Regions from separate parts of the Homo sapiens genome. Here region 2 is linked to region 1. The links are contacts of gene promoters, found by promoter capture Hi-C in human tissues and cell types (Jung and others, 2019). All regions are on one chromosome and are shown on one strand. Each heading gives the region's core, a stretch centred on a gene start or on the middle of the fragment in contact. The rest is flanking DNA. Distances are from core to core; before and after follow the strand shown. Region 1 holds the start of SLC22A31 (solute carrier family 22 member 31). Region 2 overlaps BANP (BTG3 associated nuclear protein).

The links. Contacts are between HindIII fragments. The study calls those that stand out against the background at their distance.
Region 2: a contact is called between a fragment that was not itself captured here and the fragment with the promoter of SLC22A31 in region 1, in 1 of the 25 tissues and cell types used here (dorsolateral prefrontal cortex).

The regions. Positions count from the first base shown.
Region 1 is chr16:89,199,003-89,201,921 of GRCh38, forward strand. It overlaps SLC22A31 (solute carrier family 22 member 31), which reads right to left and starts at 1,535. Exons shown (of 9, transcript NM_001384763.1): 1 at 1,476-1,535; 2 at 711-814; 3 at 411-565; 4 at 21-189. The coding sequence starts at 1,499. RefSeq lists enhancers at 1-438, 1,687-2,309 and a silencer at 2,602-2,691. The HindIII fragment of the contact is 13,129 bases long and covers 1-2,919 here.
Region 2 is chr16:87,963,613-87,966,605 of GRCh38, forward strand. The region is part of intron 1 of BANP (BTG3 associated nuclear protein); the gene reads left to right. Among named protein-coding and RNA genes, the nearest start is that of BANP, 14 kb to the left of the region's middle. The HindIII fragment of the contact is 6,313 bases long and covers 1-2,993 here.

The DNA of each region.
Region 1 (2,919 bases), core at 285-2,784:
CCAGCTCCCACCACACTTACCCCCAAAAGAGCAGCAAGAGTCCACTCATCAGGGCACCCAGCCCCTGCAGAAGACGCCAGTCCTGCACAAGCGCAGCCAGGCCGGGCAGCAGCAGGGTGCCCACCACCGAGAAAAGGCCAGCCCCCATGGAGAAGGCCAGGCGGTGGGGAGGGTCACACAACTCCAGGCCTGGGCAGACACAGACAGGTTGAAGTGGAGGCCTCGGGGAGGACTGGAACAGTTCCATTGGGAACTGCGGGGACCTATTGGTGACCTGCCCAGGAGCGGGATGCCCAAGGGACTCACTGCTCACTGTCCCTGCAGCTCGGGGCCCTCGGCAAGGGAGCCTCAGAGGCCTGCGGGCCACCCACTGCCCCTCCCCCAGTGACAGCAGCCCCCAGGGTACTCACGAGCCAGATACAGGGCGAGGAGGGCCCCTGCCAATGTGCCCCCGTGGAGTAGGCGCAGGACCAGCAGGGTAGGGAAGCTGGCAGCCAGGGCCTCACTGGCCCCCAGGCCTGTGGTCAGCACCAGGGAGGCCACAAAAACTGCCCGGCGTCCAAACCTGGTGGGCAGCGGGGGACATGCTTGGACAGGGTCAGGATAACCCAGGGTCCAACCTTCATCCTGGCAGCACCAGGTCTAGCTGAACCCTGAGAGTGGGCGGAGGGGAGGGCTGCTGGGCAGCAGGAAAAGGGAAGGGGCCTCACCGGTCACAGCCTGCTCCCAGGATGACACAGCCCAGCAGCCAGCCCAGGAGGTGGCTCACCTGCTCCAGCGGGACCTTCCAGCCGTCTCCACACACAAGGTTCCACTATGGGGAACAGCAGCCACGTGGAGGCCAGCTCAGGACCCTCCCCTGGGGACAGGTGCAGGGAGTCCCAGAATGGCTACTGGAAGGGGCCCTCCATGTCCTGCTCAATCCCTCCGTGGAGAGAAGGGGAAACTGAGGCATGAGAGGGCAAGGGGCTTGGTCCAGGTCACACAGCAGCCTCTCTGGTCTCCGGCAGCCCCTGCACAGGGGTCGGGGGGATCTGCCCACCCTAAGTTTTCTGCTTGTCCCTAGATAGGGCCTCCCCCACCTCCGCACACCATTGCTCTTCCCCCACGGCCAGCTCTTGTCCGACCCGTTTCCACCTCCTATTCCGAGGGACCCCGGGGACACCCAGGGCCTTGGTGGCGTCATAGACACAGCCCCCACCCCAGCCGGCCAAGGGTCATAGCCATGACACAGGCCTAAGAAATGAACCCCAGCACCTGCGCTGGTACCCACGCCCTCCCTGCCCTGCCCATTTCAAGAGGGACTCGGGCAGCGGCTGGAGAGCTGTGCTCAGCGGCATTTCCCGGTGAGGCCCTTGACCCTTGACCTCAGCTCTGCGCCTCCCCCCACCCCTTCCGGTTCCTGGGTCTTCTTGGCAAGCTTAATCTACTGCTGGGGGCCGTGCTATGCCCGAGATTTTACTTTCAAACCTGACGTTTTGGGAAAGCTGATGGGGCATTCCTGGATCCAGGCACCAAACAGGAGGAGGGCAGGTGGGAGGTGGGAGGGAGCAGGGTGGAGAGAGAAGCCCGGCGGGTTCCAGGGCCCCAGGCAGCCCTTGTGAAGATGTGGCAACCCCGTTCCAGTTTCCACACTGGGGCCAGTCCTCCCAGGATGGGGGATGGGGGCCTCGGGGTAAAGGCTGCCTCAGGGGTGTGCAGGTCTCAGCCCCAGCGCGGAAAGGCATGAAAGGGGCCTGGAGGTCCCTGCCGCCCGCCTCCCCATCTCTTCTCACGCAGATCGTCAAGGTTTCCCTTCAGGCAATGCAGTCTCTAGCCCAGCCTCTGCGCACCTCACTGATGGGAAGCCCACCTTCCCCAGTCTGTGCTGACCACGTCAGTCCCTCCAAGCAGAGACTCTGCCTTGGAAAGCCAGCCCAAAGCCACGGTCTGCTGAAGACGCTGGTGGTCCTGAAGCAAATTCCAGGCCCTGCTCCCCCACCGGCGCCTTCGGCTCCAATCCTCCAGCGCCCCAGGCCGCCCCGCGCCTGGCAGCTCCCAGGCCCAGATTCAGCCCCCGCCCGGCCCCTCTCCGCGGGTCCGGCCCGTGCGCGCCCGTCTGCGGCACCGTCGGGCCGGCGGCCGCCCCGGAGCAGGAAGCCCAGGAGGACGGCCGGGGGGCCCGGGTCAGAGGCGCCAGGTAGGATGGAGAAAGGACACCCAGGGCCTCGGCGGGCTGGGGGCGGGGAGGGCTGCGGGGCAGCAGGGACGGGGGCGCACCTGGGTGACCGGGCTTTGCAGGAGGCCGGCGCCGGGCAGCGCGTAGAGCCAGCCGCGTGTGCAGGGCCGGGTGCCGTTGCGTGCGGGCGCGGGGCGCGGGCCCGGGGCGGGTGCAGGGCGCGGGATCGGGGTAGCGCAGGAGCAGGCAGGGGCTCGCGGCTCGCGTGGGCCCCAGGCGCGGGATGGCGGCGTCCAGCAGCGCGGGTCCGCGCAGGGCGCGCAGCGCTGGGGGCAACAGCGTGGGGTCCGGTCGGCAGTGGGGCGCGGGCTGCGCGGTAAGCAGCTCCTCGGAGCTCAGCACCAGCCCCAGCACTATGCAGGGTACCCACGAGGCGGAGGCCAGCAGGCGCCGGGCCCGGCCAAAGCCGCCCGCAGCTCTCAGCACCCGCGCCTCCTGCTCCATCGGTCGCAGGCTGCGCTCGGGACGGGGCGGGGCCTGGACCAGGGCGGGCTCCTGGGGCGGGGCTTTGGGGCGAGGCATTAAGGGGCGGAGCCTGAGTCCAGTGGAGGCGGGGTGTGGGGGCGGGCGGTGTGAGGGCGGGGCCTAAGGCGTAAAGGGGCGGGGCCCGATCTGGGGCATAGGGCGGGGAGGTTGAGGGGCGGGAAGGTTGAGAGGCGGGGCTTGCGGCCGAACCGCGAGGGGGCGGGGCCCCGTGAGGG
Region 2 (2,993 bases), core at 464-2,963, 1.2 Mb before region 1:
ATGGAAGAAACAGCTCTATGAAGAATGTCTGCCCTAAAAATACTGACGGGAAAAAACCCGTTACGTTGTGACACCCCTAATGATGCATGTGATGTGGCTTAGGTAGCGACAGAGAAGATCCTGGTGTTGAAGGAAGCCCTAGTGTTAAATACAGGAAGCCTGGCTTGACTTTTCTTGCTGCTGTTTTTCATGTGATGCTGATAATCTATAGCAGTTTGTTTTTTAACTTTGACTGTTAAAGCCAAGTTTTCTGCCCAGTTACAGTGGGTTTCCTTTTAGTCCTCTTTTAATGGCTTTGTGGTTTTGTTTTATGGGTGTCCAATATTTTTGAAATAGTAATAGCAAAATTAAATACTTTTGCAGCTGTCCGTTTCTCCTGATGACCAGCTACCGTTAGCCTTTGCTGACAGTGGATGGGCACTGTTCATCAGATGTGTCAATCACCCTGATTCCACATTCATGAACTGAGTAGTTAGATTAGTAACTTAATTATAGCACAGTCCTTATTGAAATCAGGACATGGGCACAACACACTTTGAAAACCTTAATCCATGGTTTTTAAATAGCATTTCTGACATTCATCATTGTGCATTGGGGAATGACGTCAGTGGTGTGTTCTCACTGGACTCATCACAGACGTATTCACTGGATGCGGTGCGGGCCAGGCCCGGTGCCCTGCTGAGAACACAGCCATGCCAATTCCTGCCCTTGTGAAGCTCACCTTCTAGCAGGAGACACTAAGCAAGAGAAACCTTTCAGATGTGTAGTAAGTCAGACAGTAGAGCAGGAAAGGCTGCTGTGCACGTCACCGTTGCCGAGGCGTCCAGGAGGCGTGCAGGAGGCGTGCAGGGGTGGCCAGCTCCGTGGTAGGACCCTGAGCTGAGTGTATCCCTGAGAAGCATGGGGAGGCCCAAATGCAGGGGCCGAGTGAGCGTGGCGGGGAGGAGAGCCCCAGGGGCTGCAGAGGGCCCGTGAGATGGGAAGCCCTCGGAGGGCTTAGAGCAGATGAGGGGCATAGCCTGGCACGTGTTTTTATGTGACGCCTTGAGCGCTCTTTATCGTGATCACAGCAGAGGTGCAGGTGACAGTGAGACGGCCGTATGTGAGCAGGTCTGAGGGGCGGCCTGGGTCCAGGTTGGGAGTGACAGGCTGGGAAGACGAGGCCGGATCAGGGTGAAGGAGAGGAGAACCCAGGAGGCCTGAGGTTTTGGCCTGAGCATCTGGGAAGTAGGTGTTGCCTTAAATTGAGGTGGAAAGTGTGGAAGAAGCAGGTTGGTTTGGGGTGGGTGACAGGGGCTCAGTTTGGACATGTTAGAATTGAGACGACCCCTTAGGGGAGACACCTAGTAGGTGGTGTGGTGTGAGGCCTGGAGTTCATGTGCGAGGTCTGAGCTGGCAGGGTGATAGGCGCCATTGGCGTGGAGATGTATCTGAAGCCACAGACTGATGAGCCGCTGGGTCAGTGCTGGCTGAGCAAAGGTTCCAGGGCCGTGCCCTGGGCATGCATCCTCAAGTCAGGAAGTGGATGTGGGACCAGCAGAGAGACAGAGGAGTGGGGGCCAGGCAGGGAGGACAGCGTGGGGAGGAGCCGGAATGAGCCCCATCAGGCCCTGTGGTGGGGAGAATGGGGGCAGCATCTGGGCTGGAGCAGTTTTGGGGGAGTAACTGAGTGACAGCCCGATGGGTGGGATCTGGAGGGGATGTGAGCACTGAAAATGGAGACCGCAAGTACAGGCGGGGCTTCTGAGGAATTTTATCTGAAAGGGAACAGAGAAATGGGGCTGGGGCTGGAGGGGCAGGAGGGAGGGCAGCACCGTGGGGGAAGGGTGTGCAAGGGTGATGCTGAGGGACCAGGGAGGGGTGCTGACTGGGTGTGGGGCACATGCCCGAGGAGGCAGGAGTGGGCATTCTTGGGAAGTGAGAGGGAGGAGAGCAGGATCACCCACTAAGCCCGAGGCGCAGAGGGTCCAGGAGTAGGGGAGCGTTCGCATGGCTGGGCGGGGCTGGGCGGGGCTGGGCGGGGCTTGCAGCATCAGGCGCACCTGAGGTTGATTGGATGTGGATTCTCTCCCCATCCCTGCCCGAATGTGTGGGTCCCCATGCCTTGGTGGCTGAGAAGTGGATTTAAGGCCAGGTTAAAGATGGTTCTGTAAAGTTTATCAAGATTTGATGTAGTTGGCCTTGCCTGTAGACACATCACTTGGTTGTAGAAACAGTTTCACAGGTAATAAATAAGTAAGGCCTACGGAATAAGGCCTATGGAAAGCTCAGCAGTCCAGGAGGGCGGAGTGGACAGGAGAGTGGGGCTCGTGCAGTTGGAGCGTCCCTGCTCTGGGTAGCCTGAGGTTTGCTATTTGTCATCCCCAACTGTCTTGGATGTGTTGGCACACCTGGACAGATGACCACACGTGGACACCATGTTTAGGAAGCAGAATTGGGATCATATCATCCGCACCGCTGTGCAGCTTTCCATTTGTATGCCTTCCTTTTGCTATCATATTCTGGAGATCTTTCCATTTTGGTTCATGTAATTAAATCAGTCTCATCCATGTGAATGACTTGGTGGTGTCTGGCAATCTGGATGGGCGTGGATTCTTCACCACTCCTGTTCTGCTGTACATTCAGGGTGTTACTCTGGGCTGTAGGCCCTGCTTTCCCATATGCGCCCTGAGCCCTGCATCTCTTGGTGGACTTGGTAGGGTTCTGAATAGTCGTCAGAGTAAGAGGCTTGCTTGAGCATTAGTCTCAGTCCAGCTGTTTTATTGTATTAAGACTGGACTATCCCCAGGACTTCTGAGAAATGGCAAATTTAATTTGCCAAAATAGCAACCACAGGCATTGCTGTGTTCCAGTTTTCTTGGGCTTGTTGCCCTAGTTTTTTCTATTGAAATCTTTACTGTTAGCAGAATTTTAAATGACTCTTGATCCTGGCAACAGAGGCATTTTGAGTAAACAACTCGAATAATGTGTGGTGTCCTCATTTGGAAGAGGTT